Regions from separate parts of the Homo sapiens genome. Here all the other regions are linked to region 2. The links are contacts of gene promoters, found by promoter capture Hi-C in blood cells and fetal thymus (Javierre and others, 2016). All regions are on one chromosome and are shown on one strand. Each heading gives the region's core, a stretch centred on a gene start or on the middle of the fragment in contact. The rest is flanking DNA. Distances are from core to core; before and after follow the strand shown.

The links. The method cuts DNA at HindIII sites, captures the fragments that hold promoters and counts their contacts. A CHiCAGO score of 5 or more calls a contact.
Region 1: a contact is called between a fragment that was not itself captured here and the fragment with the promoter of DESI2 in region 2, in 1 of 17 cell types (activated CD4 T cells). The highest score is 7.2, in activated CD4 T cells.
Region 3: a contact is called between a fragment that was not itself captured here and the fragment with the promoter of DESI2 in region 2, in 16 of 17 cell types (naive CD8 T cells, activated CD4 T cells, neutrophils and 13 more). The highest score is 11.7, in naive CD8 T cells.
Region 4: a fragment that was not itself captured here is called in contact with the fragment with the promoter of DESI2 in region 2 in 2 of 17 cell types (naive CD8 T cells and total CD8 T cells); the score reaches 7.5 in naive CD8 T cells.
Region 5: a fragment that was not itself captured here is called in contact with the fragment with the promoter of DESI2 in region 2 in 2 of 17 cell types (neutrophils and monocytes); the score reaches 8.9 in neutrophils.

The regions. Positions count from the first base shown.
Region 1 is chr1:244,916,892-244,921,837 of GRCh38, forward strand. No RefSeq gene overlaps it. Among named protein-coding and RNA genes, the nearest start is that of DRC8, 50 kb to the right of the region's middle. RefSeq lists a silencer at 1,753-2,112. The HindIII fragment of the contact is 4,942 bases long and covers 528-4,946 here.
Region 2 is chr1:244,650,608-244,655,917 of GRCh38, forward strand. DESI2 (desumoylating isopeptidase 2) reads left to right here and starts at 2,519. Exons shown (of 5, transcript NM_016076.5): 1 at 2,519-2,748. The coding sequence starts at 2,707. RefSeq lists enhancers at 1,190-1,763, 2,023-2,182 and a silencer at 2,263-3,032. The HindIII fragment of the contact is 4,542 bases long and covers 1-3,064 here.
Region 3 is chr1:245,047,499-245,052,637 of GRCh38, forward strand. All of the region lies in intron 3 of DRC8 (dynein regulatory complex subunit 8), which reads left to right. Among named protein-coding and RNA genes, the nearest start is that of EFCAB2-AS1, 79 kb to the left of the region's middle. RefSeq lists enhancers at 1-33, 4,577-5,078. The HindIII fragment of the contact is 5,391 bases long and covers 1-3,946 here.
Region 4 is chr1:245,024,095-245,028,732 of GRCh38, forward strand. All of the region lies in intron 3 of DRC8 (dynein regulatory complex subunit 8), which reads left to right. The region is part of intron 1 of LOC107985725 (a long non-coding RNA gene); the gene reads left to right. Among named protein-coding and RNA genes, the nearest start is that of EFCAB2-AS1, 56 kb to the left of the region's middle. The HindIII fragment of the contact is 4,516 bases long and covers 363-4,638 here.
Region 5 is chr1:245,062,492-245,067,195 of GRCh38, forward strand. All of the region lies in intron 4 of DRC8 (dynein regulatory complex subunit 8), which reads left to right. Among named protein-coding and RNA genes, the nearest start is that of KIF26B, 90 kb to the right of the region's middle. The HindIII fragment of the contact is 7,671 bases long and covers 1-4,704 here.

The DNA.
Region 1 (4,946 bases), core at 1,749-4,248, 270 kb after region 2:
AAAACAAGATAATTAGTGAATTGAAGTAATTAATAATATTTTGTGATAAGCACCACTAACAAAGAAGTAAAGACAAGTACATGAAATGACAGCTGCCGTACATAAGAATCACATTTCCCTTCCCCTCCTAAAGAATCCTAGTAGGATATCTTATAAAAAGAGAGCTTCTGGGGTAAGGTGACTTAGAGGGAGAAAAAAACATGCAGATATAACCTACAAAAGGCATCCCAGTCTATTCTTTGCTTAGAGACTGCAGCATAGACACTGTTCCCATGAGGCAGGGTCCCACAGGGTTAAAAACCTATCTAAAACAATTCTGCAGAGGCAGCCTCTGACATTGCGTTGAAAGGGTCCACGCACTCTGTGAGCTCATATTTATGACATACATAGGGTTCTCTTTGCTGGGCAGTTCTTTCCCTTGTGTTGAAGAGACACGTGATAGTTGACCCTCACCTCACGGCTCCCTCACTTGTGAATTAAAGTCAGACACTGCCGTAAGGTTCTTCTGGTTCCTGCTTTGTGGAGAAAGCTTTCAGCAGCAATATCTGGGATCACTGGTGTATTAAATGTCAGGCCTCGCATCATTATTCTGCCCTGAGCTGATGGTAAACCGGGCACCCAGCCTTTTAGCTTTCATCCAGCACGAGGGAACTTGCCTTCAGATGTGACACGTACAAGTCAAAAAAGCTCAGAGTCAGCTCCAACGTCTATTGGATCCCACTCTATCGCCTTTAAAAAGGAAAAGAAAATCGAATTCACAGAACCGAGGCTAAATACGACCGTTAAGAACGGACTGCATTCACCATATTTCCATGAGAGTGGCAAAGAGAACAAAGATAAATGCCAGGCTACATCTTGGATCCTTTGCCAGCTTGTGGAAGAACTTAGCAGAAAAAGATGTGAACTCTACTGTTTAGGAATAAAATAACTTTTAAAAATAAATTATTGAAAAGTGTTATTTGGCTGTTTCTTTTATGCATTCAAAAGCAAAATAGTAAGAATCCAGTGGACTTTGAAATCTTCCTATATGTTAAAAAATAGGCCGGGCGCGGTGGCTCACGCTGTAATCCCAGCACTTTGGGAGGCCGAGGCGGGCGGATCACGAGGTCAGGAGATCGAGACCATCCTGGCTAACACGGTGAAACCCCGTCTCTACTAAAAATACAAAAAATTAGCAGGGCGTGGTGGTGGGTGCCTGCAGTCCCAGCTACTCGGGAGGCTGAGGCAGGAGAATGGCGTGAACCCGGGAGGCGGAGCTTGCAGTGAGCCGAGATTGCGCCCCTGCACTCCAGCCTGGGCGACAGAGCGAGACCCTGTCTCAAAAAAAAAAAAAAAAAAAAAAAAAAAAAAAAAATAATAATAATAATAATAATAATAATAATTAGAGTCCACCTAAGGTAAGAATCTAGGACTCATTTTTGTATTGAAATTTCATTCCTTGTAATTCATATTTTTTCATGTGATCCCTGAAATAAATTAAAAAAGAAAAAAAAAGGTACCAGTGCTCGTAAGTAGAAAGTGGAGAACTAAACGACTCCAAAATGTGCAATATGTTGGGCACTGGTGGCCAGCTGGTAAAAATCTTATGAGAGTTGCGGGTTTTCGAAATATATGTAATTTAGTTATCTGTCAAAATGAGATCCGCATCTACATGGCTTTACCCAGGAATGCAGAATTTGAGACTGGAGCGTAGGGAGGGAGAAGCCTATGGGTCTTGGGTTTTCCGGAATTGGATTATAAATACGAACAGGTTTAAAGAAATAATGAGGCCGGCAGCGTGTGCGAGGAGCCCCGCGCTTCCTGGGCACCACGCGGCGGGACCCGGGGAGGCAGGCGGGGACCCGGGGAGGCAGGCGGGGACCCGGGGAGGCAGGCGGGGACCCGGGCAGGCAGGCGGGGACCCGGGGAGGCAGGCGGGGACCCGGGCAGGCAGGCGGGGACCCGGGGAGGCAGGCGGGGACAGGCACCAGCCCACTTGACAACTGCGCGCACCGGCGCAGCCGGCAGCTCGGGGGCGCGCACACCCACACCGCGCCACGTGCGCGCGGGGGCTGCGGAGACTACCCGAGCCGCGTGGGCGCGTCAGAGCCACCTCCGCTCTCTCTCACGTCGCCAGGGATTCTTGACGGATGATTCCGCTGTCAGATGCCAGCTTGCCTCTGTCACACCGTTTTCCTGAACGCAGTAGCCATGTATTTGAAAGCCGTGTCATGTGTGAAACGAGTTTACCTTGTAGATTAGGATAAACAAAGATTCTCCGTGCTCATCCAAAAGTCCAAAGCCCCCTCCGCTCTGCAATTTCCACTTGTTATATGCAGAACTATTCTCACCTCGGGAATGTGATGGTTTTATAACTGTGGGGGCCCAAATGTACTGACTAGGACTGTTTTCCCGCACTCACCATGAGGAGGTGTTCAGTTGGACATGTGCCTAAGGATTTTTGTTGGCTTTTTATTTAGTATTTGCTCATTTTGGAAAAAAAAGTACAAACTACCTTCGAGCTGGGAGCTACACAGAGAGGCTTGCTCAGATTCAGATTTGTTTTGGTATGTCTGTTTCATAGGCTGCAGACTTCCTACTGTGTCACATCCAGTGCGCATCATACCTGCTGGGGTGTCTCTCAGGGATGTTAAGATTGATCAGTGGGCTCGGATCCTGTCAACCCGATATGTCCATTATAAAGTTCTCCTTCAGCTCTTCACCTGTGGTTTCAGCAGCCATTGATAATCATTGCTTAGATACTTCATTTCATTAGAGGTTGCAAAATGGCAATATTTTAATTTATCATTTCTTTCATGTATCAGCAGGATCTTTTCCCATCAATTATTTGGCTACCCTAAATACAGTTCATACAGGAAGGGCAAAATAAATACTTGATCCTTACTCTTTATTTTTGGAATAAAGAGTTGTTTCCTTAGCACTCTCCAAAGGTGACCAATCCATCTATTTTTGGAGCATTACTCTCAACCGGTGGATGTTACCATACTTGATGTGTCTTAATATGCTACAGTATTTATTTACTTATTTATTTGATGGCCCAAATACCCCACTTTCAGCCAGGGCTCCTGTAGCCTTCTGACACAACCATAGAAGTCTTTGACGTATTATGAAAGACTATGTAATATTCCAGGGGTCAGAGGAAGATATTAAATGACATCATGGGGAAGCAAAATCAGCAAAATTTAGAAAGTGAGAAACTCTACAGCACGCATCATTCAGTTTCTTCAACAATAGATTGCAAGGGGGTAGAGAAGGAGGGCGTGAAACTCCTCTAGGGTCAGAAGAGACCAAGAAACTTCAGACAAAAGCAACATCCGGACTTTGTTTGGATACTGGTATTTTTTTGTTTTTTTTTTTAGATTGTAAAAAAAAGAGTTAAGGAGATGGATGATGGTAATGGTTGCACATTATGAATGGATTTAATACCACTGTTTACTTAAAAATGAATAAGATGGTAAATTTTATGTTATGTGTATTTTACCATGATAAAAATAATAAATTAAAAAATAATAATTTGGCTGGGCACAGTGATTCATGCCTGTAATCCCAGCATTTGGGGAGGCTGGGGCAGAAGGATTGCTTGAGGGCCAGGAGTTCAGGACCAGCCTGGGTAACATAGTGAGACCCTGTCTCTACAAATAATTAAAAAATTAGCCAGGCGTGGTGGCACATGCCTGTGGTACCACCTTTTTGGGAGGCTGAGATGGGGGGATTGCTTGAGCCTGGGCGATTGAGGCTGCAGTGAGCCAGGATCACACCACTGCACTCTGAATGACAGAGCAAGACCCTATCTCAAAAAAAAAAAAAAAAGCAAAAGTAAAATAAAATAATTTATGAGAAAATCAAGGAAATTTGAATGCTGGCTGGCTTTTTGATGATATGCAGGAATTACTATAAAAATGCGTAGGAGTGGCAATATGATTGTGGTTATGTTAAAAAATATTCTTTCGATTTTAAAGACGCATAGTGAAATAGTATAGATGAAATTGTATCTCGAATTTGTTTCAAAATAACCTAGTGGCAGTAAGGAGAGAAAGTAATTGTGGTATGATGGATAATCATTGAAGCTGGGAGATGGGTACCTGGGGGTTCACTGTGTTCATCTGTCTGGTTTTATATATGTTTGGAAATTGCATAATAAAAAGTCTAAAATTTATTTTAAAGTACAGATTACCCTAGAAGGAAGCCGAAGAGGAACTGATAGTGGTAGAACTACACAAACTCCATAAATAAAGTCTTGCCTAATTCAGACATGTGCTACCACCTGCCAGCTGCAGTGGTGGAGTAAGAGGAAAAGCCCAGTGACTAAGCAAGGAGAGTAACTGTCTTATATTATCGAGGGATGCTCCGGGCCTGTGCTAGGTGCTTTGTATGCTTTTAACTCATTTAATCCTTACAATAGTCTTATGAGATAGATACTATTATGTTAGTATAATATCCACACTACAAATGGAAAAACTGAAGTTCAGAGAAGCCACTCTCTTCATAAACAGCAAAGATAGGCTTCAATCCATGTGGTCTGGCTTTGGAGCCAGTCTACTGATAAGAGCAACATAAGTAGCTCTTAATAGATGCCAGCCCTGTTTTAAGTGTTTTGTGTCTATTAATTCATTTAATACTCACAATAACCCTATGAGGAAGATACTCTCATAGGACCCATTTTACAGATGAGAAAGTTGAGATACAGGCAGGTGAAGTGACTGTGTAAGATCACACAGCTGGCACACGGCAGAGCCAGATGTTAAGCTGGGAGTTTGGGCTCCACCCCACCCTGCTGCCCCTCACATTATTAACCACTGGGCTACAGTGACAGCTAGCTATGCAGGCTCTTTCCTTCCTTAATAAACATTTATTGAGCACCTGCAAGAGGCAGTCTCTGTTAGAGGCGCTGGGATATGGTGATGAACAAGACACATTTTGCTTTACCTTCCGGTGACATACAGTCT
Region 2 (5,310 bases), core at 1,269-3,768:
CTATATCAATTTTTCTCCCTTTACATGCAAGTATGCCTCAGCATCTCCCATCTTCAAAATGCCCTCCATTGACCACACCGCCTTATCCAGCTGTTGCCCCCAAGTTAAGTTGTCTCCCTTTTGTCACCTTACATTTGCTTCTCAAACTGTTAAAGCAGTTATTTAAATCTCACTCCTCCCAGAGACCGCTCACATCAAAGCTACCAGTGATTTCTATATTGCTGAATCCAATAGTCTTGACATCAATGTTATCATGTTCTTTCTGATTTTCCTCCTGCCTCCGTGCTTCCTCTTCATACTTTACTTGACCTCTACATGGTGAAGGGTCCTAGAGCTTTGTTCTTGGCCCACTTCTTTTTAGCTACACATATTCCTAGGTCATCCAACCAAGCCCCAAGTCTATAAATGGCCATGACTCCAGTTTATTCAAATGTCTACTACTTGGCAGTCATGGATGTCTAAAAGGCATCTCAAACTTAGCATGACCAAACCATAGCTCTTGATTTCCCTACCCCCAGCCTGCTCCTCCCCAAAATGTTTCACATCTTAGAAGTGCCAGGACTATCCACTCAGTTCCCCAAGTCAAAAATCTAGAAGTTATTCTCGAATCCTCTCTCCCTAACCAACTCAACATCTAACCCATTAGCAAGTTCCACAGACTTTACTCCAAAATATTTAAACTCTAATTATTTCGGTCTCCACCACTATCAGCCACAACGAAGCCACTTGCTGGCATGCACTTCTGGAACAGCATCCAATTGGTGGACTTGATTAACTTTTGCCACATAACCACCCCCAAAACTTTGTGACTTAAAACATTATTTCTCACATTCTGTGGGTTGGCTGGTCAGTTCGTCCGATCCATGTGGTTGTGGCCAGGGAAGGATAGTCCGGGAGAGCTTCACATGTTCGCAGTTGGTTGGTTGTCAGCTGGATGTGGGCCGTGACTTGACCACGTGTCCCTCATCATCCATCAGGCTAGCCCACACTCATTCCTAAAATGGTGGTCACAGGACTCCCAAGTTCAGCAAGAGGGCAAGCCCCAACTCACAAGTGTTTTTTAAGCCTCTGCTTGCACGATGTTAATGTCCCACGTCCACAGCAAGTCACAGTCCAGTGCAGTCAGTGGGGGTAGACACCACCAAAGAGTATAATTTGGGAGACTGGAAATAATTTGTGGCTATTTTCACAATCTGCCACACTCATCTCCCTATTTCCACCTCCTTTGCCTCTCTGAAATCCATTTTCCACACAGCAACCCAAGTAATCATTTTTAAACACACGCACACTCATTTCACTCCCTGGTCCAAACTTATGGCTTCGTTTAAAATACAACCCCTGTTATGAATTTTAAAATCCTTCCGGGATCTGGCCTCTGCCTACCTGCCCAGCTCATCTAGTACCGTCGACTCCTTGCCTACTGTGTCCCAGCAAGAGTGATCTTTTGTTTCCTTGAATACAGAAAACTCCTTCATGCTTCAGATCTTTGCATTTGTTCCCTTTGACTGAAATACTCCTCCCCCTCATATCTGCGGGGCTGGCTTTGTCATTCACATTTCAGCTTAAAACTCATTACAGCGATCTTCCCCGTGCAGCCAATTTAAGAATGACTTCACCTTACTTAAATTTTCTGCAAAGCACATACCAGTGATATTTTGTATGTCCCTGTTCCTGTTTATCACGGCATTCCCGAGGGCCTACAACACTGCCTGGCACATAGGAAGCACATAACAAACATTTGTTGAATTAATGCAGAGCTGCATACTACGTCCCAGGATTGTGCTAAGCTACGGTTACTGTACCCTTCCCATCTCAGCAGGATAGTTTCACAAAATGTAAATTCCACATTGAGGATTAATTGGATGCACGTTACACCTCATCCCACACCAGTAACTCGTCTTCCTCTATTTCCCCACCACTCCCCTTGCCAAATAAAAGGTGAGGAAGCATTTGGAAAACTTAGGGTCATCACTCTGGTCTTTTGCCACATTTCGCTGGCTTCATCGAGCTCAACGCAACATGAACTACTAACAGCAGCAGCACCTGAGATGAGAGGGTGAATGAAGGTAGGAGATTTCACCGCCCGCGGGCGGCAAGGGATCTGCCGCAGCTCTAAAGCACTGCATGCTGGGAGTTGTAGTCTCCCGGGGAGGCCTGGTCTGGTAGGACCGGGGCCCCCGCGGCATGCAGGGAGTTGTAGTCGAAGGGCTGTTGAGACTCCGCCTCTGCACTTATAGTAGCAAGGGGGAATCCTCACTGCATGCTGGGAACTGTAGTCTTCCTGGGTCCCCGTTCCTCCAGGACGCGGAGGCGCCGGAGTTGCCGCCATTTTAGGTCCCGAGGTGCGCCGGCCGAGAACCAGAGCGCAGGCGGGCTCAGTCCTGGCGCCGGGCCGGCCCCGCCCCCGGGGCGCCTGGCGCCCGCCCCTTGCTCAAGCCCCGCCTTTCCCCACGTGTCTGCCGCCTAGGGGAGGTGCCTCATCCGGAGCGGGCCGCCAACGGTCCGGCCCCGTCCGCACAGACGCTCCTGTCGGCGGCGCCCGGGAGCGGCTCGGCTGCCCGATGCTTCCGCCCCGGCTGCCGCGGGCCGGGCTGTACGCTTAGTGCCCGGCTCAGGCCCCCTGAAGCGCCCGCGGGGGTGAGAGCGGCCTCCGGCCCCGCGGAGACGGAGCGGCTTGAGGACGAGGCGGCGGCCGCGGGGAGGAGGATGGGGGCTAACCAGTTAGTGGTGCTCAACGTGTACGACATGGTGAGTGCGGCCCCTGGCGGCCCCGAGCCCTGGCCCAGGCCGGCTTCCTCTCGCCCGTGGGGCTCGGACCCCGGCCCCAGGCGCTTCCTGCCTGGCGTCTCCGCCTCCAGCCTAGTTCTCGGGGGAAGCCGGGGGTGAAGGAGGGAGTATTGTTATTTTTTAATCCTCGCACTCGTCGACGCTCCGGTGAACCCAGTCAGCCCGAGGGTTTTGGCCAAAGCTCGGGTGGGCTTGAACCTCTCCCATCCGCTCAGCTTGGACCCGACCCCGGCTCTGGGCCCGACCCCTTGGCCGACGTGCAGTGTCCTTTCGGCAAAGCTTCCGTTGCGTTTCCAACCCCACTTGCCGGCCCCCGGGGCTGCCCCGGGACCCCCGTCCCGACCGCCTGCGCTCCCAGCTCCTCTGCTTCTGCCGAACTGTCCGTCTCTCTCCATGGCTACGTCTTCAGAAACTCCCAAGCCCCTCTAAGTCCAGAAGGTCACAGCTTTCGGGTGCCTGTGCTAGAATCTCTTCAAAGGTGAACAGGAGCCAACACACCCTTTCCTTGTGTGTTAAAGGCAACCTCGTTAAAATATGAATGAGGCTAACATTTCTCAAGAAAATAGCCCAGCTGAATTATTTAGAGATCCTGGTGGTGCTCCTTTCCTACACTCTGAAGACCACTTTCCAGGTGATGCAACAGGTGACGTGACCACGGGAGAGGGAAGGGAAGAAGTTGTTTATTGTATCATCTAACTTTGGAGTATGGCAAGCACGCAGAATCGAGTCCAAGAACTGGTTTGCCTGATTTTTGCAGTGAAATGCCCCCAGAAAAAAGCACCCGGTAGAGAATTGTCGTTGCAGTTAGATGCATGTTTGGGTGTGTTTGCTTGCTTTGTTCTGTAGAATGGGTTTTTGTTCTGTAGACTGGATTAGTACCTCTGACTGCAGTGCTTAAAATTCCTTGTAAGTTGACTGACAAATGAAAAATTGCCCGTCGTTATTTTTGTTGGCTTAAAGATGCAGGAGAGCAGAAATACTACAGGCCAAGAGTCTTATACAGTTCTAAACTTTGTATTCCCTTGTATTATTTATAAGTTTCTAAATTTACAGTGTTATTATATCTTGGGTAGAGTGGGATTTCTCATGCCATATCTGGGAATTGTGTCAGAAGGGTGTAGGAACTGCCTGCCACTTGAGATGAGTCCTCTGTTGAATTCTGATGTGAGCCTGGAGATGAAAGGAGATGAGTTAACATGCTGAGAAAAGTGGAACAGGACAGAAAAAGTTGAAGAGGAGAATAAGCCAAACAAAAGATCCTAGAAAACCATGGCACTTTGTAAGTTCTGTGGCCTGTGTCACTGGTTGAGAAATAATTCTCTGGATTTAAACTTTTTGTGTTCAGCTGAACACCTTTATCTTTCAAGACTCTTAACTGCCCTTTTACTTTCTCTGTGCACATCCCCCTAATCTGAATTTGGTTTGTTTTTTATTCATGAGGGCTATTACTGTCTTTCAGAATATATTCTGCTCTTGAGATCACAGTGTGCCTTTTCTCCTAGATTATTAAACAAACCCGTATTTAAATTAGGAGTATACAGTGGCCAGAAGCCATGGTTTCAGAGCCTAAAAGAATTTGTGAGAATAGAGGAAGAGAGTTTTACCTTTTATATGAAAACGAAAATGCATGTTTTGGCATATAGTGGGCTTCTTTACACTTGAGGCATTCTGTGATACAGGAAAATCTGCAAATTGTGGTCGATTGGGAAAAGCTAGAGATGGTATTCAGTATTTTCGAAGGGAGGACTGTTCTGAACGATGTTAAAATATTGACTAATGAGCGAGATCTTATTCTTCACATCAAGTTTGTAAAATAGGTAGTTAGAGAAGCAGCAGACAGGGGAGAGAGTAAGTGATCTGCCTAAACAACTAAAAATACAATCTAGAATTTGTAGACCAAAATCTGATTCACTATCTTCTCTACTAATTCCTGCACTTATGTCTTTATATTGCTTTTGCCTGTGAACAGGAGATGAAGCATATGAATGTTTATCGGAATGATAAATAGTTGAATTATTAGACTTTTAATAAACTTGGTCTTATATGTTCTTTTGAGGGCTTTGAGTGTTTTATGTCACTAATTCAGCAACCTACCATTACTTATTATTTTTGACCTGGTAGAAGCCACAAGGATGAGTTAACTGTCCTTTCTTCTTTAAGGAATTTAGAGTATTGTAGAGGAGATACACAACAGTGGCAACAATTCAAGACAGAATAGCATGGTTTTGATAAGAGCAGACAAGGATGCAAAGGAGGAGACTATGTAGTTGTAGGATCAGGGAATGCTGAAAAATCAAAGGTATGAAACTTGAAGAATGGGTAGCATCCACAAGGACAGAGAACAATTGACGTGAACAAAATGGCAGGAATAGGGAAAGCGCAGGTGGGATTTGGGAACTATCAGCTGGTCCAGTATAACTAGAGTAGAGCATAAATGAAAGGAGACAAAACTGAAAGTTTGATTAGAACTTCTTTAGTCAGATGTGTTGTGGGCTTGGGTGAAGGGCTGAGGGGGCTCCTTGA
Region 3 (5,139 bases), core at 1-2,500, 400 kb after region 2:
GTGGCGGGCGCCTGTAATTCCAGCTACTTAGGAGGCTGAGGCAGGAGAATCGCTTGAACCTGGGAGGTGGAGGTTGTAGAGAGCTGAGATGGTGCCACGGCACTCCAGCCTGGTCGAGAGAGCTAGACTCCATCTCCAAAAAAAAAAAAAAACGAAAAAGAAAATGTTATTAAGAAAATCATAAGGGGCTGGTGCAGTGGCTCATGCCTGCAATCCCAGCACTGGCACTTTGGAAGGCCAAAGCAGGTGGATCACTTGAGGTCAGGAGTTTGAGACTAGCTTGGCCAACATGGTGAAACCTCGTCTCTACTAAAAATAAAAAAATAAACTTAGTGGAACATGGTGACACGTACCTGTAATCTCTTATTTGAGAGGCTGCGGCAGGGGAATCGCTTGAACCCCAGAGGCGGAGGTTGCAGTGAGCTGAGATGGTGCCACTGCACTCCAGCCTGGGTGAGAGAGCTGGACTCTGTCTCAAAAAAAAAAAAAAAAAAAGGAAGAGAAAATATATTTACTCCTCCTTAAGAGGAGGTGGATCATCATAAAGGTCTTGATTATCATCTTCACATGGAGGAGGCTGAGGAGGAGGAGGAGGAGGAAGAGGGGTTGGTCTTGTTTCGAGTGGCAGAGGCAGGAGAAAATCCACATCTAAGTGGGCTTGTGTTGTTCACACCATGTTGTTGAAGGGTCCACTGTGCCTTTCTTTTACCTGCAAGGAATGGTAGGCTGATACACAGCCTCATCTCAACTTTTACTTCAGGAAACAATATTTTAGGTCTATCCAGGGTCTCCAAGTTTCTGAAGTACTGAGTGAAAATGTTGTAACTAATATATTTTGTTATGAAACTGAGGATTAAGACATCCTTCATAACCAGCTTCTGAAGCCAAAGTGATACAGATAGTATAACACCAGAGTAAATTGTTGTATAAGTAGTTTATGTATATGAGGCAGGGTTTCTGTTATCCTTTGTTATTACTGTGGTTTTGATGGATGAGAGTGAAATGTGCTTATCTTGTTTTTTTTTTAAATAAAATCTTTTTATTTAAAAAATTTCAAACTTCTAAACGGTAAGAGTGTTGCCCTGAACTCCTGCACACTTTTACTTAGATTCGCCAATCCCTCATGATCTGCCACATTTGTTTTTGCCTCCTCTTTCTCCTTCTCCCTCTCTCCCCCGTTTCTCTCTATATATGCACAAACACACATACCTATTTATACATTTTATTATTATTGTTATTTTCATCATCACCATTTTGCTAGACTATTTGAGAGTAAACTGTAAACATTGTAACCTTTCCCTGAAATGCTTCACTGTGGATCTTCTTTCTTTCTTTCTTTCTTTTTGGAGAAAGGTGTCTTGCTATATTGTCCAGGTGGGAAATGGACATGAACTCCTGGGCTCAAGTGGTCCTCCCACCCCAGTTTCCCAAGTAGCTGGGACTATAGGTGTGCACCGCTGGGGTCTTCCTTTCTTTCTTTTTCTTTTCTTTTTTTTTTTTTTTTTGAGACAGAGTCCCACTCCATCACCCAGATGGGAGTGCAGTAGCTCGATCTCGACTCACGCAACCTCCACCTCCCAGGTTCAAGTGATTCTCATGCCTCAGCCTCTCGAGTAGCTGGACTTACAGGTGTGTACCACTACAGCTGGCTAATTTTTGTATTTCTAGTAGAGACAAAGTTTTGCCATGTGGGCCAGGCTGGTCTCCAACTCCTGGCCTCAAGTGATCCACCCACCTCGGCCTCCCAGAGTGCTGGGATTACAGGCATGAGCCACCGTGCCCAGCCTCAGTGTAGGTCTTCTAAGACAAGAACATTCTCTTACATAAGCCACAGTGTCTGTGTGTGCTCTTAAAAATAACCTTAGAGTCAGATCACTTGGGTTAAGGTGTCATTTGGCTCATTCCTCTGCTTCTTGCAGGTGCATTTCTAAACAGTACAAAACTGATATTTTCTGGGAGTGATAGACCGAAATTCTTATGGGGGCCAGCCTGTGATATAAAAGTGAGAATCTGACAGAGTTCATACTGTACTCATGACATGTATGTATGCCCCACCTAAACAAATAAACACGCCAATCCTAGACTAAAAAAAAACTGTAATAAGAAAAAATCATCAACAACAACAACAACAAAAATACCCGATGGCCAAATTTGTCACTTGGGTCAACAATTTGCGGCCCTGGATCTACGGTCAAAGCTCCCGTGGGGTGGAATATCCACAGCTTTCTTTGGAAGCACTGTGGTATAGTTCAGAAGTTCTCCTTTAAGTCCAAGTGCTTGACTGAGATTTGTGAGAGGCAGCAGTCGCAGTGGCAGGTAGCATGAGAGCTAGGCTGTGTGTGTGAATCCCGTTTCCACCATTTGCTACCGGTGTGATCTTGGGAAAATGTCTTAACCTTTCTGTGGTTCACTTTTCCTCATCTGTAAAATAGTACCTTTCACACAAAGCTGTCATGAGGAAGAAGTGAGGAAGAATATTTAAAGCACCTTACACCAGAGTCTGGCACGCGTAATAAGTCACTGTAGAACTGGATTCTGCGAAGACGAACCTGATGGCTAGAGGCCATCACATCCATGCAGATCATGATCCTGGTATAAGGGGAGAGGGATGTGAGGACTGTTCCTCCTGGAAGACCTAGAGAAGATGTTCATTCTTGAGCCAGAAAGCTACTTAATCTACTTTTCTCCCATTGGGAGTGACTTTCTTTTGTTCTTATCCCCGTTGTCTTTTTTTTCTTTTTTCTTTTCCCTTTTTTTATTAGACGGATTTTCGCTCTTGTTAGTAGAGATGGGGTTTCACCATGCTGGCCAGGCTGGTCTCGAACTCCTGACCTCAGGTGATCTGCCCACCTTGGCTTCCCAAACTCCTGGGATAACAGGCGTGACCCACCGCGCCCAGCCCTCATCCCCGTTTTCTACTCATCCTTCTTGTCAGACTTCTCCCCAGCTCTCTCCTATATTTCCCTAGTGCTGAGGGGGTCACTGCTTGAATATTAACTCTACGTGATCCCTGACAAGTTATTTAATGTCTTTGAGCTTTAGTTTTCTATCTGTAAAGTGGGGACAATAATAGTACCTACCTCCTAGTTGTTGTGAGGGTTCAGTGAGTTAATGTAGGGATTACTGTGTCAGGACAGTCCCTGGCACACAGTAAGTGCTGTGGAACTCTCAGCTATTGGGTAGGATGTGCATCATTCTCTTTAATAGCCATATTCCTCCACGGTGTACTCTATACTTGTGATCTCAATTTTCTTTTTGCTGGCTCTTTTTTGGAGTTTTTTCTTCCTCTTTTTCTCCTCTGCAAGTGCTCTTATTGAGGTCAGTCCTCTTCTTTTTGTCCAGATCTAAGATTCTGCTTATTCTCTTAGCCTTCTGAAATATTTTATTTTTTTACTTTGAGACAGGGTTTCACTCTGTTGCCTAGGCTGGAGTGCAGTGCCACGATCTCGGTTCACTGCAGCCTCAACCTCCTGGGCTCAAGCAATCCTCCCCCAAGTAGCTGGGACTACAGGCATGCGCCACCATACCCCAATAATTTTTAAAAAATTTTTGGTAGAGATGGGGACTTGCCATGTTGTCCAGGCCACCTTCTGTAATACTTTAAACTGTAGCAACCTGGCCAGGCTCATGCCTGTAATCCCACTACTTTGGGAGGCTGAGGTAGGAGGATTGCTTGATCCCAGGAGTTCAAGACCAGCCTGGGCAACATAGCAAGACTCTGTCTCTATTAAGAAAAAAAAAAAATCAGCTGGGCATGATGGTGTGTACTTGTAGTCTCAGTTGCTCGGAAGGCTGAAGCAGGAGAATCGCTTGAGCCCAGGAGTTTGAGTATGTAGTGAGTGTGATCGTGCCACTTCTCCAGCCTGGGTAACAGAGCAGACCCCATCTCCTCAATCCCCCCCACCCAAAAGGAAGACAAAACCATCGATATTATTTTGCAGCCAGAAGCTTGGGGGTAGGGGACAGTAAGGAGGTTATTGGAGAAAGGGAAGTGGAGATGAGGAGGGAAGGGAGGGAGTGGGAGGGAGACACTGGCTGATTGGCTGAGCAGTGGAGAGCTACCGATGGCAGGATTCTGCAGCGCGGTGAGGCATGGGGTGGATGTTGCGAAATGAAGCTGGCGGTTACAAGATAAGCCATTTAGAAGAAGTGTTGTGATTAGTGAAAGGAAGCCGGGAAATAGAATAGAGTGGCGAAGCACCTATCAAGTTTTTTCAAGATAAGGAAGATACCTGAATATTTTAAGGCAAAAGAGGAAACAGCTAATAAAGAAAATAATGAAGATGCTGAGAGGGAGAGGTAATTGTGTGAAGAACAAGAGCTGAGTGTGGAAACGAAAAACTAAGAGGGAGATTTGCTTCTTTGAGGAGGAGCACTTTTTATTTCTCCAAGGCTACGAGCACGAGGCAAGAGCTATAGGACATTCCTCTAAAGTGGTACAAAGTCAGCGACTGTAAAGGTGACGTGAGGATTAATAATAGCACCCAGTGATCGTGCAGTTCACATCTGTTGAGTGCAGTGGGTGATAAGGACGTTTTCTGAGATGAAGGGAGGGAAGTGGGTGATAAGGACGTTTTCTGAGATGAAGGGAGGGAGTACTTTGGAGCTTGAGGCAAGAGATGCTGCAGAATAGCTGTTTTGAGGGAGTTTGCCAGGAAGTCAACAGACGACTGAGCGGATTGTTAGGCAACACCCAGGACAGATTTGATGTTGGATGGGGGTGAATTTGTCATAGGCCACGCTTTTTTATTTTATTATTTATTGCAGCAGTGCTTTGCAGGAACAAAGAAAGTGAAAATTGAGATGTTCAGGATTATGGACTAACAGCAGGCAGGATGGAGGGTGAAGGGCCCAGAGTTCAGGGTGGTGACAGTGGCCATTTTGAGTGGCTGAGTGTAGAGGACTGAGCAGCCGTGTGTAGATTAACTGCCAAGCACAGCTGCGTGAGTGAGCCTAGGCCAAGCTAGCGGAGGAACCACGCAGCCAACCCGCAGGATGGCGGAAAAGAATAAGCCGTGGTTGATTCCATCACTCTGTGGCGGGCAGCTTGTTACACAGCAGTAGAAGATGCATGCCATGCCTTGTGTTGACTGCGCACAGCAGGGAGCCTGAGGCAAGGGAGCCTGGCACAGAAGCAGA
Region 4 (4,638 bases), core at 1,371-3,870, 370 kb after region 2:
GGGAGACGGTGGTTGCAGTGAGCCGAGATTGTGCCACTGCACTCCAGCCTGTGCGGCTGAGCGAGACTCTTATCTCAAAAAAAAAAAATTATCCTTATTTCATTGTATGGATGAATCATAATATATTGAATTAATCTCCTTACTAATGGACGTTTAAGTTGTTTCCAGGCTTTTGCTATAATAGCTCATGCTGCAGAGAATATCTTAGCATGCATATCATCTCACAAAAGTGAGAACTTTTTCTCGGTAAATTATTGGAAATATGTCAAAGGGCTTGACAATTTTTGGTAGATGTTGCTATCTTGATGATAGAGTCTCTCATCTTGTGTGAGAGTACCAGTTTCTTCAGTCCTTCTGAAACAAGCTTTAATTATCAAGCATTGGGATTTTTTCCCAATCTAATATGTGAAAAATAGAAACTCAGTGTTAATTTTCTTTTTCTTTTCTTTTCTTTCTCTTTTTTTTTTTTTTGAGACAGAGTCTCGCTCTGTTGCCCAGGCTGGAGTGCAGTGGCACGATCTCAGCTCACTGCAACCTCTGCCTCCTGGGTTCATGCCATTCTCCTGTCTCAGCCTCCTGAGAAGCTGGGATCACAGGCTTGTGTCCACCTGGCTAATTTTTGTATTTTTAGTAGAGATGGGGGTTCACCATATTGGTCAGGCTGGTCTCGAACCCCTGACCTCAGGTGATCCACCCACCTTGGCCTCCCAAAGTGCTGGGATTACAGACGTGAGCCACCATGTCCAGCCTAATTTTCATTTTCTAAATTAGAACATCTTTCATATCTCTTAAAACTGTTTGTATTTCCTTTTGTTTGACCTGACAGTTTATGATTTTTCCCCATTTCTTCCCACTGAATTATTGATCTTTTTCTATATGAAAGGTCTCAGCCTTAGTCATGATGTGTCTGTCATCTATCTTTTCACTCTACTTTTACTTTCTGGCATGCAGATTTTTTTTTTTAATTTAGTCAAATTACACACCTTTGGAGTATGGATTTAATTTTTGGAAACAAACGAATGTCATTTCGAGTAGTTTTAGTAGAATAAATTTAGGTTCCCCTAAATAAAGCTAATTTGGTGGGGACAAAATACACCCACAAGGAGTGCCTCTAAGGTAAAGAAGATAATTTTTCCATGTAGCTGATAAATTTAATTTGAAAATGACTCTAATCTTATTCACAAACAAATCCAGTTTTTTTGTAATCTAATGGAATAAAAGTACACCACAAGTCCGTAGAGACAGTTGCTGGCTCTATCATGCATTTTCTATGTGTCACCCTCTTTTTATTTCATTTTCCTTATCTATAAAATTGAAATAAAAATGCCAGCACCACTTAAGCCACAAGAGTATAAGAATATCAAATAAAAAATATCAACTTACTTTTTTTAACACTCCATTCTAATCAATTTCAGAACAGGTTGATACTCAAGAATTTGGTGAGCTAAAATGAGATGGGGCCCAATCCTGGAATAAAAGTGCCAATCTTTCCCCTTTCCCAAGCCACACCCATCTGTCCTGTTCCTATGCTTCAATGCCTTTACAGTGCGACCTTATTTTTAGTATTCCAGACTATTCTGTGTGATATGGTTTCACTGTGTCCCCACCCAGATCTCATCTTGAATTGTCGCTGCCATTATCCCCACATGTTGTGGGAGGGACCCGGTAAGAGGTAATTGAATCATAGGGGCAGGTTTTTCCCATGCTGTTCTTGTGGTAGTGAATCAGATGATTTTATAAAGGGCAGCTCCCCTGCAGACGGTCTCTTTCCTGCCGCCATGTAAGATGTGCCTCTGCTCCTCCTTCGCCTTCCACCATGATTGTGAGGCCTCCCCAGCCATGTGGAACTGTGAATCCATGAAGCCTCTTTTTCTTTATAAATTACCCAGTCTCGGGTATTTCTTCATAGCAGTATTAGTGGTATGAGAATGGACTAGTACACTGTGTTTACTTTATACCTGCCCTATCTATAGGAGATTTTCCCTAATATTTTCTTAATCTTTAGACAAATTTTGCAGTCCAGCAGCACCAAGTATCCACTTGCTAATACAGTGAGTCTCTTTTTTCATTGCTTCCATCTTCAACTCAGTATAAGTCTCTGAGGCTCTTGGTATCCAATATTTATTTCTTTTACTGATAGGGAGACTTCAGCTTCGTTAGCAATTGGCAGGAACCTTGAGTGTACTAGGTCCTGTCTAAAATTCTGTAAGAAATAGTAACAATAACTTATTTGTAATGGATTAGAAATAACTTTTCCTAGGAGCACTGGAGGTACCATAAATATTACTTTTACTTCTTCACATATAGTGCTGTTTTGAAGAGATATTAAAATAACATTTCGCAATTCATGTTTATCAGGTAGTAGAAAGTGTGAGCAATGTGGAGAGATTGCATGGACAGTTCCCCCAAGACAGTTATTATCTGAGAAAGCTGGAAGCTACTCAGAGAGCTTTATAAAAACTGTTATCGATACTGGGTCTGCATTTGTGCAATGGAAAAACATGGAAGAGGAATGGGAATTGCTGGGTCCACACACCCCTCAATAAGAAATGAATTGTAAAAACAGGTTTATTCATGCAGTGATTGTTCACATGTATGAATGAAGTGAATGATGAACTAAGACTACATGTGTAACTTGGATAAATCTCAAAAAACAACGTTGAATTTAAAAAATTACAAAAGGACGGAAACATAGTACCATATATATACACTTTAAATACACAAAATAATAGTAAATATTGTTTATGAATACAAATATATGCATGGAAATGATAAGGATTATCCTCAGAATAGTGGTGTGATTGCATCTGAAGATGAAAGGAGAAGGGATGAGGAGTGGAATGTTAGCTGTTTCTGCAATGCTTTCTTGTCAGGAAAAAAATTCTGAAGAAAATGTGGCAAGATGTTAACATCTGTTAAATCTTGGTATTGGCTGTCGTATTTTCTCCTGTACTTTTCTCTGAAATACTGTACAACTACACATAAAAATAAATATTTTTAAAAGAGTGATTTATATCTTATCTCTTTACCATCTCACTTTGTAGTTGCTTTGTTAAAAATTGGTTTCTTATCATGGTCCTTTTGATGAACTGGGATTAAAGAAAAGAGTCAAAGAGAATTTTTTAAAGTCATTCCAAATTCTACTTCCTGAAATAATAATTTTTAATGTTAGACTACTATTATTCTAGAGCTCTTTCTATCCCTGTGTAATAAAATAAGTGGATAGAAGGGTGGGAAATTAATGAGAAAGGAAGAAGGAGGAAAGGAAAGGAAGGAAAAAGATATTGAAGAAAAAATCTAGGATATAATCTTCATGTGGGAAGGACTTACTTTAATTTTACTTGACTGGGACAAAAGAAAAAAAATTAAGTTGAAGAAATTGTGGAATCTCAAATGTTTGTTAGCCATAAGAGACGATATTTATTTTAAGTTCAGAAAAGATTTTGAGAAAAACATTAAGAGACTGTAGTCCTTGTGTGTTTTTTTAAACTATCTATTTCGAATATAAAAAGTGTCAGTTGATTCCTTGCTGTGAAAGATAAGGACATTAGCACTTCCAAAATTCTGTCTACGTTTTCTCTCCCAACCCCCAATTTATCTTAGGTATATTTTTATTTTTACACTGACAAGGTAGAATGTTCATACTTTGTTTAGTATTCACACATATTTTAGTAGTTTTGTATATTTGAATGAAATTACCACTAACCACATTTTCTCATTTTTTTCTCCATCCTTGAATTCTTTGATTTATTTTTGTGTGTTGATTCTCTTGTCAGTTTTTTTTTTTTTTTCAGGAAGTGCTCATGGATGTTTTTGAGACTGGGTCTCCGTCTGTCACCCAGGCAGGAATGCAGTGGTGCCATCACGGCTAACTGCAGCCTCGACCTCCTGGGCTCACACGATCCTCCTGCCTCAGCCTCCTGAGTAGCTGGGACCACAGGTACACGCTACCACACCCAGCTAAATTTTAGTTTTTGTAGAGACAGGGTCTCCCTATGTTGCCCAGGCTGGGCTTGAACTTCCGGGCTCAAGCAATCTGCCTGCTCAGCCTCCCAAAGTGTTGGGATTAGAGGCGTCAGCCACCATGCTGAGCCTCTTTTATCTTTTACATGTTTTTTTTGTGCTTGAATACTTTTTACTTGAATGACATCTTATAAATTTACACAATCATTTCTCATGGCTAAGAAGTGTTCCAATGTGTAACTATACTAGAATTTAACATATTTCCTAATTTTAGAAATGTAGGTTGTTTGTAATATGATGCTGCTGTAATTGTGACTGGGCTAGAATTATTAGTGTGGAACTTTTCAAAGATCTTATTTCTCTCCTGCACTGCCAAAAAATAAACCCTGGATGCCCAATTTATTTTATCTTTACCTTTTCTTAAAGAGGAATATTTTTTTTCTTGTTGGGAGAAGAGATATGTCAATCATTATAGTTACGTTCTGAGAGTGGGATGGTGTGCAGGATAAAGAAGAAACCCACTCTGACCGAGACTGGAAGAGGAGTTTGTTAAAGATGTGGGGGAAGTAAGATTTGAGAGAGAGGAGTGGAACTTGAGCAGTTACAGAATATGAAGGAGCAATCAGGAAAGGGGATTACAGCTTAAAAGTTTTTGAATAGATAATATGTTCACAT
Region 5 (4,704 bases), core at 1,270-3,769, 410 kb after region 2:
GGGAGGAGATAATGGCATTTTCATACAAATGGAAAGGTTATTTAGAGGTCTATGTCTTCTGAAGTTCCAACCTAAGTGGAATTATGGAGAACTTCAACTAATTACAAAGGAAAACTAAAAGATGATTTAAAAGTAAGACCTATGTTTGTCAGATTATTGACTCAGGCTTAGGCACTAAGCACGGATTATGACTTTTTATTGGGGTGACCATCTGCATCCTCCCCTTCCCCATCCTTGCCCTTTTTTGGTTGTAGATGTTAGGCAGCACCTTTGTTGGCTCCACATCTGTTTTGCTCCTAAGCGTGCTATGTTCTATTAACCATCTCCACCTTTCCCCGTGACTCCCTCTTCAATCTGTCTGCTCATTATATGAGGCCTCTTAACTTCTGTGCTCAAACAACTCTGCTTGGCCTCTGTTACCTGGGTGTAGGAGAGCTGGCTAGCAAATCATTACATGGATTTAACAAACCCAGGTCTACAATTACCTAATCTAGTCAACCCTGGCTTGCAGAAGACACCATCACAGAACTTAGTGACACCAGTGCCTTTCTCACCAGCCTGATACCCTTGGTGAGCAGTGCATCTGAGCCCTCCCATGGAACAGAATCCTCCAGTGAGTCTTCTGACTCATTAGATGCCCATTCTGCCCTCCCACTTCCGTCAGCTTGGTTTGCCACTTCACTCAGGGTTTGGTGTCGCTTGTTCCAGGTCTCCACTTCACTCAGGGTTTGGTGTCACTTGTTCCAGGTCTCACCCTCGCAGCAAGGGTGCCCCATCTCCTAGGGTCCTTGCCAGAGTGTTAAGTCTGTGTCCTGAGAAAGTGCCTGAAGTCGATGAATTCTTGCTTATCCAGTTTTATATTCCAGACCTCTTGGTCAAGCACTCTCATCCAATCTCAGGGGTACTCCCCTAGCTCCTAGTTCAGGAGCCAATTCCTATCTAATTCCTTTTGCGATTTTAGTGTATAGTCTTTTTCTTTCCTTATTAGGCCCAGCACTTCCTCAGCCAGATTATGCTGGGATTTAACACTTCATTATTGCCTGGAGCAGCCCATTGGATGGATGGCCTTGGCTCAAATATGATGGCTAGGATCATCATTCAATTACATTTCCTGCAACTGTAGATTTAAGAGGTGCATTTCATTGGGAGGCTGAGGTGAGAGGATTGCTTGAGCTCAGGAATGAGGCACAATGGTGGCCCACTGCTCTGCAGCCTGGGTAACAGAGCCAGATCTCAACTCTTTTTTTTGAGATGGAGTCTGACTCTGTCGCCCGGGCTGGAGTGCAGTGGCACAATCTCGGCTCACTGCAACCTCTGCCTCCTGGCTTCAGGTGATTCTCCTGCCTCAGCCTCCCGAGTAGCTGGGGGTTACAGGCACGCACCACCACACCCGGCTAATTTTTATATTTTTAGTAGAGACGGGGTTTCACCATGTCGGCCAGGCTGGTCTCGAACTCCTGACCTCAGGTGATCCGCCCTCCTCGGCCTCCCAAAGTGCTGGGATTACAGGCGTGACCAACCACGCCCGGCCCAGATCTCAACTTTTTTTTAAAAAAAGAGAAAGAAAATTGAATTTTCATGGCTGCCATAGTTGTCGTCTGGAAGAGCTGTAATGCGAATCAGGTGTTAAGTGTCCAGTAGAATATGACCAAAAGGAGTTGGCTGCTCTATATATTTTATTTCTAAACTCACTAGGGCCTACCCCTGGCTTTCAGGATTAGATCAAAGCATAAAACTACTTAGGAATGAAATGAAGGTCCTCATCAGATCCAAGGAGTGGGGCAAGAGTGAGCAGAAACTTGACCAGCACATAGTAAAGATAGGTCAGTGATAAGAACTGGGCCAGGCTTATCCTGGAATTCTGTTCTTGGATCAAAAGAGGATACCATGGCAGGGAGACCATGGTAATGATAGTTCTTAACAAAACTGTCCCTTTACATATGATGGTTGACCTCGACATCTGTGCACAGCCATCATTCTGGGATCTTTGTGATATTTCTGGGAGTCACTGTTTTCCTTCTGGGTTGGACTTCTTTCTATCCCAAGTTTTCCTCTTTCTAGTTCCTCTAGCATTTTAACATATTATTTGATAACTTCTTGGGAAAGAGTGCCTTGGGGGTAAAATTTTTGAGATTTGTATGTTTGAAAGTGATTATGCTAATCTTTGGCTGGAAATAGAATTCTACATTCAATGGATTTTTCTTCATTAAATGGATTTGGATTTTTCAGGTCTTCAGTAAGAGTTCTGAAGGCACTGCTCATCTTCATGTTCCTGGTAATGCTATTGAGATAGTGCAAATCCATTCTGGTTCCCAATCCTTTGTATATAAACATTAATTTTTTTTTTCCTGAAACTCTGGACAGTTTTTTTTCCCCAGAGTTTGAAATTTCACAAAGATTTACGTTGGTGTAAACACATATCTAATGTGTTAGGTACCTGGTGGGCCTTTTCAAACTAGTGACTTGTATTTTTTGGTTCCAGGAAGTTTTCTTGCAATTATTTTGTTTTCTTTTTTCTGTTTTTTGGAACTCCTATTATTCATTTTTGTGTTTCTGGACTGGACTAGTCTTTAACATTCTTCTTTTTTTTTTTTTTTTTTTTTTTTGTATTTTTAGTAGAGACAGGGTTTTTACCATGTTTGCCAGGCTGGTCTTGAACACCTGACCTCAAATGATCTACCTGCCTTGGCCTCCCAAATTACAGGCGCATGCCATCACGCCCGGCTAATTTTTGTATTTTCAGTAGAGATGGCATTTCACCATGTTGGCCAGGCTGGTCTTGAACGCCTGACCTCAAGTGATCTGCCCGCCTCGGCCTCCCAAAGTGCTCGGATTATAGGTATGAGCCACCGCGCCCAGCCTAATATTCTTATTTTTCACTTATTTTCCATCTCTGTCTCTGTGTTCTCTCTGGTAGATTTCTTGAACTTTGTCTTCCAATATTTTTATTGAGTTTCTCATTTCTGTTGTGTTTTAAATTTCCAGTAGCTTGTTTTTGTTCTTTGAATGTTCTTTTTTAAATAGCATCCTGTTCTTGTTTCAGATCTCTGAAGATAATAGTGTTACTTTATTTGAAGTTTTCTTCTCTTTGCATAATCTGTTTTCTCCAAGTTGATACCTGTGTCTGTTCTGGTCTTTGTTTTTGTTAGTAGCTTTCCTCAGTGTCTGATAAACCTTGGCTGTCAGTTCCTAACAAACACATGCATGGAACTTGTCAACTTTAAACTTCATCACTGGGTAATCTGGGAATCACCCGCATCGGAGTGTTGGGGATTTTTCTGTCGTGCAGGCTTGATTCTTTGGAATAGAGTGTTCAGTCTTCTGCTTGGGAGGCAAAAGCGTCTAGCTGCCAGTTCGGACACCTTCTGTTTACACTCTTTAGAAGGTAAATCTCGAAACTCCTGCAGGGATGGAGGGCAGGCAGTCACTTAGTGGGGAAAACTGAGAGGGAATTTACAGCTTTTCAAACATATTTTACCCTAGTTCCCCTAATTTTAGTTCCTGGTCCCTCATCCTCATTTCCAGAAGCAACCAATGCTTTTTGAGGATTCTTTACTCACTACTGTCTTGGGTTCAGTTTTCTAGATCTACTAGATTATTGCCACTCATCCATCTACTTCTCAGCTTCCAAAATTTTATTCCCATTATATTTTTTCCTATTCTTCCTAAGTAGGTGTATGATTATTTTAACAAATGTTTCTTTACTGCAATTTTAATAAGGTTTGAGAGAGAGTAAAGTTAGATGCAGATATACAGTTTGCCTCCTTAACACAGAAGTTTCATTGATATTTGATTAGTCAGAAAATAGCAACAGTACTCCTGAGAAAAGTATTAATAATGTAAATCTAGATGAGACATTGTAATAGTCTTTAGAAAGAGAGCATTAGTAAATGTTGGGACTAAAGCACTGATAATTATAGCATATAAGATGTAATACATTGGAGTGAATTAAGTATGCATGTGTAAATATTAAGTGTAACTACAAAAGAGTATAAAGTGAATGCATAACTTCCAAACTGATATAGAGGATAAAAGAATTAGAGGGCATTCTGTCAGTCCAAAAAGACAGAAAAGAAGCATAGAATAATCAGAGTATCTAGAAAACATAAGATAATGGTACTTATAATCATAATAGGCCAGGCATGGTGGCTCACACCTGTAATCCCAGCACTTTGGGAGGCCGAGGTGGGCGGATCATAAGGTCAGGAGACTGAGACCATCCTGGCTAACATGGTGAAACCCCATCTCTACTAAAAGTAGAAAAAATTAGCCGGGCTTGGTGGCGGGCACCTGTAGTCCCAGCTACTCGGGAGGCTGAGGCAGGAGAATGGCGTGAACCCGGGAGGCGGAGCTTGCAGTGAGCCGAGATTGCGCCAGTGCACTCCAGCCTGGGTGACAGAGTGAGACTCCATCTCAAAAAGAAAAAAAAATCATAATAAATGCAACTGGATTAAACTCACCAGTGACAAGAAATTGAAATTGGACTTCTGGAAAAATCCGATATTATAATACATCAACACATTTCTGCCATCTCTACCTTCACATTATAAATTTAACTTTCTCATCATTTCCACATCCATCACCTTAGTCCAAGCCTTGTCATTTCTCCATGAATGACTGCAATGGCATTTATTTACTTATTTACTTATTTTTCAGACAGAGTCTCACTTTGTCGCCCAGGTTGGAGTGCAGTGGCATGATCTC